Regions from separate parts of the Homo sapiens genome. Here region 1 is linked to region 2. Evidence: promoter capture Hi-C in 16 types of primary human blood cells and fetal thymus (Javierre and others, 2016). All regions are on one chromosome and are shown on one strand. The core of a region is centred on a gene start or on the middle of the fragment in contact, and the rest is flanking DNA. Distances in the headings are between cores, read along the strand shown.

Region 1 (5,990 bases), core at 862-3,361, 1.2 Mb after region 2:
ACCTAAACATCATTATTCAGCACAAGTGTATTTCAAATTTAGAGTTTTACTTTGATGTTCTTCTTTTTTTCTTTTTCTTTTTTTTGAGACGGAGTCTCACTCTGTCGCCCAGGCTGCAGTGCAGTGGTGCAATCTCGGCTCACTGCAACCTCCGCCTCCTGGGTTCAAGAAATTCTCCTGCCTCAGCCTCCCTAGTAGCTGGGATTACAGGTGCCCGCCACCATGCCCAGCTAATTTTTGTATTTTAGTAGAGACGGGGTTCCTGACCTCAAGCAGTCCACCCGACTTGGCCTCCCAAAGTACTGGGATTACAGGCGTGAGCCACCGCTCCCGGCCTGCTATTCATTTTTTAAATTCTGGCTACAGTAACTGCCCTATGCTAAATTTTCTCTTATTCAAATACATTTACTATATTGGGGAAATGTTCATAGTAAAGAAATTCCTGCTGTCATTACCTTGTCCTGAAGAGTTTGCTGCCATTTTCCTATTTTGTTTCAAGTATGTCCAGTGGCAATTGGTCAGCACTTCACAATCACCTATAAAATATGTGTACACACATATACAATGCACCATATTTTAATCACAAACTAAAAGGAACAGCTAGCCTCCTTACAATGAAATGTTTGCTGTTTCTTAATCTCTTCAGAAAGATACATTTGTGCCGGGCGCGGTGGCTCACGCCTGTAATCCCAGCACTTTGGGAGGCCGAGGCGGGCGGATCACGAGGTCAGCAGATCGAGACCATCCTGGCTAACATGGTGAAACCCAGTCTCTACTAAAAATAAAATTAAAAAAAAAAATCAGCCGGGTGTGGTGGCAAGCGCCTGCAGTCCCAGCTACTCGGGAGGGCGAGACGGGAGAATCACTTGAACCCGGGTGGCGGAGGTTGCAGTGAGCCGAGATCGCGCCACTGCACTCCAGTTTGGGCCACAGAGCGAGACAGCGAGACTCGGTCTCAAAAAAAAAAAAAAAGAAAAGAAAGAAAGATACATTTGAAATGTACACAGACTGAAACAAATGTAAACTCTGCTAGTGCCTCAAGCATTTAATTAAATACGGCATTGTTTATTCTTGCAGATGTTCATACCATTTAGCATTACTGTCTTTAATAAACGTCATTAGGTTGTATTTACCAAATATATCAACCAATTGATAGAGTCAATATAATCATGGTGCTAGGAAGAAAAATCATTCATCTATGGTGTCTCTGCATTCGTCTAAAACACATACCCAAAAACTACTGTGTACACTGAAAGCTAAAAAAGGTAAAGGAGTACTGTATCTGCTCTGCACCATACACTGTGTAACATGCTCGAAATTAGTTCCTTTATTTATTTATCACCATTTTATAGATGAGGAAACCGTACCCAGGGTCATAGAGCTAGTAGGAATTATTTGGGCTGCTGGTTTCCAAACTTCGTGCTTTCGTACTAAATCCTGGGGAGATCCAAGATGAGCAAGACCCTAATCCTGCTTTCAGAAGGGAAAATAAAGTCTTATTCAAGCAACCATACTATTAATTAAAAAAAAAAAAAGCTTAACAAACCCGCTCTTTAAAAGGTGGGCACAGTGCCGGAGGCAAAGAATTGATTTCATTGGCAGCAAAGAGTGATGCCTTAGTCTAGGGAGCCCGGGAAAGACACAAGGGATAGAAAACAGACACCGGTTTTTAGTAAATGAATCGTTAGGTGTCTCCAGCGGCTGAAACACAGAGCGAGCAATGCGGGGTTAGGACTGGAGGACAACAGGGCCATCTTGTGACAGGGTAGACTGGCGTGCCAGAAAGGTCCCTGCCTACGGATGTGCAGAGCCGGCTGGGCCCGGGCTGTGAACGAGACGAAGGAAGCAAGTAGGAGCCAGAAATGTTAGGTGGCAAGGTCGGAAGGGAGGTCGCTGCCTGTAGCAACAAAGACGGCGGCGACAGGTTAGCACCGGAGCCACACTTTTCTATTGCCCGGTGCCTCCAGACTGTCGTACTTACCTGGGACCCGAGGACACCGGGACCGCCTCTCCTTACAATCGCTGCTCTTAAAGGGGGCGCGACCACTTAGGCAAGAGGAGCTCAACTCGCGGCACTACAACCTTCCCGCCCCCGCTGCGCTTCCGCCTCCTGACTGACGTGCGCCCCAGGGAGCGGAAACCCCGCCTCCCGCCGGGACCCAACGGCCACCGCCCGTCGTGATTCGCACTTTAGCGGCCACCTCAGTGCAGACGTCACTTTTTTTTCCAAAGAGTGACAGTCGAAGAGGCTCACGGGAGATGCAAACGGTACTTTTGGGGGCTGGGCCAGGGTGGGGCGTGGCCCGGGGCGGGGGAGGGGCGGGGCTGCCAGGCAGGGGCGGGACGGAGAACACCTGGGTCCCTAGCACCAAGACTGGCTTTTTATTCATTGCCACCGCCTGGCCGGTCTTGCGACGGTGCGAGTCCACCTCGGCTGGGCCTCGGAGGAGGGGCGACTCTAGAAGCTAAACTCGCTTTCGAGCTTTAACAACCATCTCGGATTGCGCATCCGCACACACACACACACACACACACACACACACACAAATTCAGGAATATTTTTTGTCTACAGTTTACATAATTATACACAATGAAAGCACTGAATATGGAGGATTTTTATTACAGTGCAATAATCTGCATTTAAGAAGTGGATGTGCCACATCGCAGAACACCAAGTTGCCACTAGTGGGATCACCTGCTGCCCACCTGATTCCAGCACAGTAGATAGCTACACATTTGAATTAAAAGGTAATCGTATATTGACATGTGTTCAAATTGCACTCTTTTTAATTTAAAAAAATATTTTTTATGGTGACAGTGTCTCGCTTTGTTGCCCAGGCTGGTCTTGAACTCCTGGCCTCAAGGGATCTGCCCACCTCAGCCTCCCAAAGTGCTGGGATTACAGGCGTGAGCCACCTGCCCTGCTTAAAATTGCAGTGTCTTAATCTCTTCCGAAAGATACATTTGAAAAACGCACAGACTTAAATCACAAATGTAAGCTCCCCAAGCGCCTCAAGCATTTAATTAAATAGAATGGATAATGAATTTGAACATATGTTTTTAATAATTGATGTTTGCTCAAGAGTAAAATGTTTATGATGCACAATTTTCTTGTGCATGGATCAATGACTGAAATAATCGTTTCAATATCAAGTATTTATTTACTGAAAACCAAGCATGTATTTACTCTATACCAAGCAGCTATTGAGTGCCTTCTACAATGCGAGGTGCTTCCTGTGCATCAGCTCTGGTCCTGCTGTTCCCTGATTTATATTTGAGACTCATGTTTCTTGCTCTATGTCAAGTAGCGAGCTAAGATTCAAATTTAAAGATCTGCCAGATGCTAAGGCCTGAGTTCTTAAATCTCACACATTGCCTCTGCTCTGGAGGAATGAATTCCTCTGAGACCAGTTCTTGCTGACTTGACTTTAATCCAGATATAAAGCCTAACACATGAGCATTTTGATGGTAGGCCAGGAGTCCTTTCAGTTAAGAGGACTTGGTGAGTTCTAGTATGACTAAAAAGATGACTGAGATCTATATGGCTGATAGAACCTTAGAATTTTTTTTTGTTTTGTGGCCTAGCTAATATAGAAACTAGGGCACAGAAAGTTCCAGTCTAAGTTTCAAATGGACATTCTGAACAAAGCTTATTTAAGGAGGTGGGAGTAAAAACAGTTCTAACCCTAAACAACATTTTATAATTTCTTAGCAAATTCAGCCTCTGAGAGTTGAAAGAACATTATCAGGAGAAAGATAAATTTAACTTGCTGCCAATTCTTTTGCCTTTTACTTGGTAGGTCATAGCCCTTGAAACCCTTCTGTCTTCTCCTAGAGTTTTTGGAACTTCTGCCTCATTGTGTTAACCTCTAACACAGTGGTTAATAGTGAGTCAGTTTACTTGAATGCAAATTCGAGCTTTGCCACTTAATGATGGTGAGCCCTGGTTTAACCTTTTGGTGCCTCTGTTTTGTCATCTATAAAATGGGAATAAAAATAAGTGATTGGGTATACGTAAATCACTTAGAATAGCACCTGGCACATAATAAGAACTCAATAAATGTTGACTATTAGAATATAAACAATGAACAATCTGTTTTACTGGGTGTCTTGGCAAGTGGTCAGTAGATCAGCTGAGCCTGGGTGTGGTGGCTCATGCCTGTAATCACAGCACTTTGGGAGGCCAAGGCAGGAGGATTGCTTGAGACCAGCCTGGGCAATATAGTGAGACCTCATCTCTAGAAAAAAATCTAAAAAATTTGCCAGGTACGGTGGTGGGTGCCTGTGGTCCCAGCTACTTAGGAGGCTGAGGTAGGAGGATTGCTTGAGCCCGGGAGGTCAAGGCTACAGTGAGCTATGATTGCGCCACTGCAGTCCAGCCAGGGCAACAGAGCAATAGACCCTGTCTCCAAAAAAAAAAAAAAAAAAAAGAAAAAGAAAAAAAAAAAAGAAAAAAAACGTCAGCTGAGAAATATACTAGGGGAAAGTCCAAGACAGAAGGAGTGCATGTTATAGCCCCTTGGCTCTATTAACTGATAGCTGTCTGTGAATTACTTTATCCTGAAACCACTGTGGTTACAGACCTTCAGTATCAAGGTAGAGTTGACAGTAGTTCCTAATTTCCAACTGAAACCACTCTAACCTCCTTTTCTGGTATTTTGTGATAAAGTATTTGGGGATCTGCATGAGGCTAGACAACCTTTAAAATCAAGTGTGTAGCAGTTTGAGACAATTACTGTATTAGTTATCTATTGCTGTGTAACAAATTACCCTGAATCTTGGCAGTTTAGAACTTGGGTTTAGAACCTGGCCCTGCACTTACTGGGTGAACACTTAGACAAGTTATTTGTCTGTTCCTCAACCTCCTTATCTGTGGAAAGGGGTATTAAAAGCACCTACCTTATGCCATTGTTTTAAAGATTAAATAAAATCAAACCAGATGCCTCATACCTATAAGCTATTATTTTCTATTAAACATTAACTCATTAGAGTATTAAAACAATATGAAACATCATGAAGATTTTGTACAACCAAATGTGGTGGCCTCCAAGATGGCCCTCCTGTTGTCATCCCTTCCCACATTGAATAAACTTGACCCAAGTAACCAATGGGATATTGTGGAAGTGTCAGTATGTGACACTGATTGCAGTTGCTACCTTGGCCTCTTTTGGGTCACTTGCTCTAAGGAAGCCATGTATATGTCATGAGGTCACTAAAGCAGTCCATTTGGAGAGCCCAATAAAGAGGAACTGAGGCAAGCCTTCCACCAACAAACCAGCACCAAGTTGCCAGTCAAGTAGTGTTCCACCTTGGAAGTGGATCTTCCAGCCCCAGGCAGGCCTTCAGATGACTGCAGCTCTGGCTGACATCTTGATTGCAGCCTCGAAAGCAATCCTGAGCCAGAACCACCGAGCTAAGCTGTTCACAAATTTCTAATCCACAGAAACTATGTAGGATAGTAAATATGGCTTGTTTGTAGTTGTTTTTGTTGGTTTTTGAGACAGAGTCTCACTCTGTCACCCAGGCTGGAGTGCAGTAGTGTGGTCTTGGCTCACTGCAACCTCTGCCTCCGGGTTCAAGCGATTCTCCCGCCTCAGCCTCCCAAGTAGCTGCGACTACAGGCACATGCCACCACACCCAGCTAATTTTTGCATTTTTAGTAGAAACGGGGTTTCACTATGTTGGCTAGGCTGATCTCGAACTCCTGACCTCGTGACCTGCCCACCTTGGCCCGGCAAAGTGCTGGGATTACAGGTGTGAAGCACCGCGCCCGTCCAGACTAGCCTTTTTAAAAATAAACATTCAAGAATGTTCTAAAATAGGCCGGGCACGGTGACTCACACCTGTAATCCCAGCACTTTGGGAGGCTGAGGCAAGCAAATCACCTGAGGTCGGGAGTTCGAGACCAGCCTGACCAACATGGAGAAACCCCATCTCTACTAAAAATGCAAAATTAGCCAGGCGTGGTGACACATACCCGTAACCCAGCT
Region 2 (5,900 bases), core at 2,614-5,113:
ACTCCTGACCTCAGGTGATCCACCCATCTCGGCCTCCTAAAGTGCTAGGATTACAGGTGTGAGCCACCACACCTGGCCAAAAGCACATTTTATCAGCATCTGCTATTTTATTATACCCATTCTAAAACTAAAAGTGGTTTATATGAAACTTCTTAACCAGTGTACATGTATATGCTTTCAAGTTAAATTATTCTAAGGTATCAACTGCAACGTATTCAGTCTCTCCTGAAGAAATACAGAAACCAAGTCCACCGATATCTGTGGCTGATGACTGACAATTTAACTGAACAAAACAAGAAGAAGGCAAGGATTGGAATTATTTGTTCCTAACTTTCCATTAGGTACTAGAGCCAGGAAATCCCTTAACTATCAGCATCTTAACCAGTACCTGAATGTATGGAAGCACACTGCATAGACACAAATACTTCAGCCACTTCAGAATATCCAATTCTTCCTCTAGTTTTGTTCCCATTCCTGCTATCAATTCAGACTTTAATGTGTTTGGTTCTACAACAGGAACTCAGATGTCATACAGCATAGCAATTGAAAAAAAATCAGACCACCTCACACCCAACAGGATGGTTACTACTGACAATATAGATAAGTGTCGGCCAGGATATAGAGAAATTAGAACTCTGTGTATTGTTGGTGGTAATGTAAAATGGTACAACCACTGTCAAAAACAGTACAGTGGGGGCCGGGCGCGGTGGCTCACGCCTGTAATCCCAGCACTTTGGGAGGCCGAGGCGGGTGGATCACAGCAGATCACAAGGTCAGGAGATCAAGACCATCTTGGCTAACACAGTGAAACCCCGTCTCTACTAAAAATACAAAAAATTAGCCGGGCGTGGTGGCGGGCGCCTGCAGTCCCAGCTACTCGGAGGGCTGAGGCATAAGAATGGCGTGAACCTGGGAGGCGGAGCTTACAGTGAGCGGAGATCGCGCCACTGCACTCCAGTCTGGGCGACAGAGCAAGACTTGGTCTCAAGAAAAAAAAAAGAAAAAAGAAAACAGTACAGTGGTTCCTTAAAAATTTAAAACTAGAACTATCACATGATCCAGCAATTACATTTCTGGGTATGTACCCAAAAGAACTGAAAGCAAGGTCTCAAAGGGGTATCTGTACACCCATGTTCACAACAGCATTATTCCCAATAGCTAAAATGTGGAAGCAACCCAAGTGTCCATAGACAGATAGATGGACAAGGAAATGTGATATATACATACAAGGGAATATCATTCAACCTTTAAAAGGAAAAGAAATTCTGACACACGCAACAACATGGATGAACCTTGAGGACATTATGCTAAATAAAGATAAAACCAGTCACAAATTCTGTATGATTCCATTCACACGAGGTAGGAAGAATACTCAAAATCACAGGGACAGAAAGTACAATGATGGTCGCCAGGGGCCGAAGGGAGGAGGGAATGAGGATTTGTTGTTTAATGGGTATCAAGTTTCCGTTTTACAAGACGAAGAGTTCTGGAAATGGATGGTGGTGATGATTACACAACAGTGTGAATGTACTCAATCCCACTGAACTGTACACTTAAAAAATGGCTAGGACGGGAAATTTTATGGTATGTGTACTTTTCTTCCAATTAAAACAAAACATGGAACTGATCTCAGAAGGCCTGGTGGTGCTTCCACGTGGAACCGACAGAAGAGCAATCTGTAGCCCGCTTCTCTCTCTAATCGCACCATGAGACCTTGTCTCCTCCGACTCTCCAATCTGCTCAGGATCACACCAAGTGTTTACTTCAGCTTCAAAAAAAGCAAACAGTACTCCTGCTCCACCAGTTCTGTGTCAAAGCAGCAAGGAACTTAATCTCTCCAAACCTGCCTCCTCTTTAAAACAAGGATAATTCCTACCTATCTGCCTCACAAGGTTGCTATGAGGGCAAAAGTGAGATCATGTATATAAAAGTGGCTTTAAACTGACAAGCACCAGAAAAACATACATTACGTGTATAACTACTTTCATATGGAAATTCAGAAGCGGCTTTAACAACGTAAGCTTCATAAAGCTTGCAACACCTCACCCATGCTTTATTCCATTTAAAACCCACATCATCTTCAAATAACACCTTTCTTGTTTTTGCCATAAACTGAAGGGCAGCATTGGGAGAAAAAAAAAAAGGGAAAGAAAGAAAACCCTTGGGGGGGAGAACACTCAAAACGCAATCAGAAATTATCTCACATGTCCTATGTCCTATGAAACTTCGGTATTTATGACCCCAGCGTGGGTCCGCGGCGCCCCGGAACTACACTTCCCACAAAGCATTGAGGCGAACCCCGGCGGCGGGCGGGGCGGCCTGGGATTCAGGGTGACCACCGCTCTCCCCAGACAGGGACCGCCGTCCCCGGGAAGGCTGCACCGCGTACGATCGAGGGGGCACTAACTCTCCTTTCTGAAAGCGCTGTCACCCCGTGGTTTCTCCTGCGGTTCGACCGGCGACCCTCTCCGCCCTCCCTGCTCCATCTGAGGGTCACCGCCTATTCGTGACCTTTCGGCTGATTACTAGAGTGTCACAAAAAGGCACCTTCTCCCCCTTCCCGAAAGCTCCATTTCTATAACTCAACCAGCCGTCGGGGACCCGGGGCCAGGCGGGGTCAGACGGGACGGGCGGACACTGCCCGTCACCCCGGGGCTCCGGCCCTCCCGCCAGCCGAGGCTCAGTGGGCAGGGGGCTGGGCTCCCCCGACCCCGGGCCAGGGCGGATCGCGGGCAGAGGTGGCTCCGCCCGGGGCTCCGGTTTCAATTTCGCAACGTGACGGTGCAAACCTGAGGCCTACAAACGCCAGCGGCGACGGTCCGCGCCCCGCCCGTCCGCCAGGCCCGGGCTCCCCAGCTCCCCGTACGCCGCGGCCGCCGCCCGCCCACCGGGCCTGGCGCCCCAGCCCTCATGCGGCCGCCGGCCCCCGGCACCGCGCGGCGCCCGTTCCGGCTCGCGGCCGCAGGTTCGGCCGCGGCACTTACTCAGCTCATCCTGGGAGGCGGAGGCGGCGGCCGCAGCCATGTTGCGCCGGGGAGGGAACGAGGGAGGGGCTGGGGGGGCAGGGCGCGGCCGGGGGGCTCGCGGCTCGCGGTGCGGCAGGGGCCGCGAGCCGCCTCCGTTCACTCGGCGCGGACCGCGCTGTGCCCCGAGGCCCGCCCGCCGCCGCCGCCTGCGTCCTCCGCGTCGCGAGCGTCGCCCTTCGCTGCCCCCGCGAGCTCGCGACTCGGGCGCTCCCGCAGCCTCGCGCCTCTGCGGAGCCGCTGCCGCTGCCGCCGCCGCCGTCTGTGCGGCCGAATCCCCGTGCGCCAGGCCCGCGCGGCGGCTCTGCGACTCCGCGCCGCGCTCGCCCAACTCACGCCGGTTTTATATTTAGAAAGAGCTGAGCCATCCTCCCAGCGGCCCCCCCGCCGGGCCCCTCGCGCGCCCGCCCGCCCTCGCTCGCTCGCGGCTCGTCCTGCCCACCTGTCGCCGCCCGCCCCGCGTGCGCTCCCCGCGCGGACTCGACACGCGGCGGCCTGTGCGGGCGGCCCGGCCTAACCGCGCCGCCGCGCGCGCAGGGCCAGTCCCCCGCGGCCCGGGGGCGGGCCTCTGACCTGAGTCGGAGCCGGTCTCCATGCCGCGGACGCTGCGCTCGGCGCCGCGAGGTGAGGGCTGTAGAGCGAGGCGTTCGGCGGGCCGGGCCCCGGGGAGCCGCGCGCCGCAGTCCGTGAGGGGCTGGGCCGAGCGGGCCCGGGCTGCCCTAGCGGCCGGGGGAAATCCTCGAGGCGGGGCCGGAGCGCCCTTTTCCGAGGTCTGCGGCTGTCACGTTGGCTGGGCCCGACCTGGGGAAACACGCCTGTCCAAAGGAAGAGACGTGGACTCAGAAAAGTAGAGCCGGGCTCGGAGTCGGCGGGAGGAAGCCCCGCCCTGCGCCTCCCGCCGAACTTCTCGGCCCCGGCGCTGACTCAGTCCCGGACGAGCCCCTGCGCCGCAGCGGCCCCCGACAGCCCAGTTCTGGTGTGGAGGTGGCTGGTGCTCCCAAAACGGCTAGCGGGAGCAGGGGGTCCACTCAGCCCTGCAAAAGTTAGATAAGGCAAGATTCCTAAAGTTCACATGGAAGTATCTATGCCTATGTGAGCTCTGAGATTTTGTTCAGATACCCTATGTTCTTTTCGGTAACTAGAGTGATTTATTTTCGATATGCTGATTTTAACTTTCTGCCTTCGCTTTGTCCGTGAGGTCATGTACACTTGCAAAATGAAATTCAAATTCAGGGGTTGCATAATTGCTGTACTTTAAGTGATGGTACTGTCATAACAAATTAGATACAAGATCAGATACTTTTTTTATATAAGAAGAAATCAAGTCTTAAATAGATTGAAATTGCATTTATTCCTTAAAGCAGAAATCTATAAAGCCCTAAGTAATGTCTTAAAAATGGAATATATGTCATTCCTGTTGTAACATAGGCCAAGTACAAGGTACAACACTGAAGACATTTTTATTTCCTTTATTGTTTTTGTTATAGAAATTATACATGATCTTGGGCCGGGCGCGGTGGCTCACGCCTGTAATCCCAGCTCTTTCGGAGGCTTAGGCGGGTGGATCACGAGGTCAGGAGTTCGAGACCAGCCTGGCCAACATGGTGAAACCCTGTCTCTAATTAAAAAATACAAAAATTAGCTGGGCGTGGAGGCGCGCGCCTGTAATCCCAACTACTCGGGAGGCTGAGGTAGGAGAATCGCTTGAACCCGGGAGGCGGAGCTTGCAGTGAGCCGAGATCGCACCACTGCACTCCAGCCTGGGGGACAGAGCGAGACTCCGTCTCAAAAAGAAAAAAAAAAGAAAAATTATACATAATTTTTGTAAAAAAAAAATGCAAATGATTTGGAGTATCATAAAATTAAAAGTGAAAGTCCTTCCTCCTAGCCCCACCATCCCACTCTGCAGAGAAATTATGACTAACAGTTACAGTTAAGTGTGCAGAAGACCTTTTCTCTGGACATATATATACAGCCCCATGTATGGCTTTGATGGGGACAGGTTTCTACAATAAAGTTCTGGATCAATTATTCCTTCACACACATTGTTCCATGTTAATTCAAAACACTGCACTACCATCACCCTTTTTTGTTTGTAACTTCATACTACACTAAGTTAACCAACCCCTTTTTTCATGTATGCTCCTCTTTTATTTGATGTTGCCTCCAAAATAAATACACAATGAACTACTTACAAACAATAGAGAGGTGTATACAGGTCTTCTCCCAACTGCATACCCACCATCCCCCCTCATCCCACTCATGCCCATAAATAATCCCTATTAACAGTTTGGTGCATTCAACCTTTCCTTACTGTTTCCGTGACTATAGAAAGTAGCTGCACCAAAGACTGGTTTGGGGAAATTTGACTTCCCATAATTTCAAATGGATCCTTCCAAAGCCACCCCAGATAAATACAGAATCTGAGTAAAAAACAATGGGTTTGTTATTTTATTTTATTTTTATTCATTTATTTATTTATTTTATTTTATTTTTTGAAACGGAGTTTCGCTCTTGTTGCCCAGGCTGGAGTGCAATGGCGCGATCTCGGCTCACCGCAACCTCCGCCTCCTGGGTTCAAGCGATTCCCCTGCCTCAGCCTCCCGAGTAGCTGGGATTATAGGCATGCGTCACCACGTCCGGCTAATTTTGTGTTTTCAGTAAAGACGGGGTTTCTCCATGTTGGCCAGGCTGGTCTCCAACTCCTGACCTCAGGTGATCCACCCACCTCGGCCTCCCAAAGTGCTGGGATTACAGGTGTGAGCCACCATGCCTGGCCGTTAGGCAATTTTAACCTCCAGGCAAGACTAGTTAACAAATCCTTAGTTCCTCCTATGAAGAAATTCCAGGTTCTCTGCGTGTACAAATCACATGAAT

What was found. Contacts are between HindIII fragments. The CHiCAGO score rates a contact against its expected background, and 5 or more counts as called.
Region 1: the fragment with the promoter of INIP here is called in contact with the fragment with the promoter of ECPAS in region 2 in 5 of 17 cell types (total CD8 T cells, naive CD4 T cells, naive CD8 T cells and 2 more); the score reaches 11.4 in total CD8 T cells.

The regions. Positions count from the first base shown.
Region 1 is chr9:112,716,006-112,721,995 of GRCh38, forward strand. It overlaps INIP (INTS3 and NABP interacting protein), which reads right to left and starts at 2,112. Exons shown (of 5, transcript NM_021218.3): 1 at 1,982-2,112; 2 at 456-536. The coding sequence starts at 480. RefSeq lists an enhancer at 1,694-1,793 and a silencer at 2,164-2,323. The HindIII fragment of the contact is 2,113 bases long and covers 1,535-3,647 here.
Region 2 is chr9:111,480,520-111,486,419 of GRCh38, forward strand. ECPAS (Ecm29 proteasome adaptor and scaffold) reads right to left here and starts at 3,864. Exons shown (of 50, transcript NM_001364929.1): 1 at 3,597-3,864. RefSeq lists silencers at 2,494-2,913, 3,184-3,303, 3,424-3,963. The HindIII fragment of the contact is 4,796 bases long and covers 2,030-5,900 here.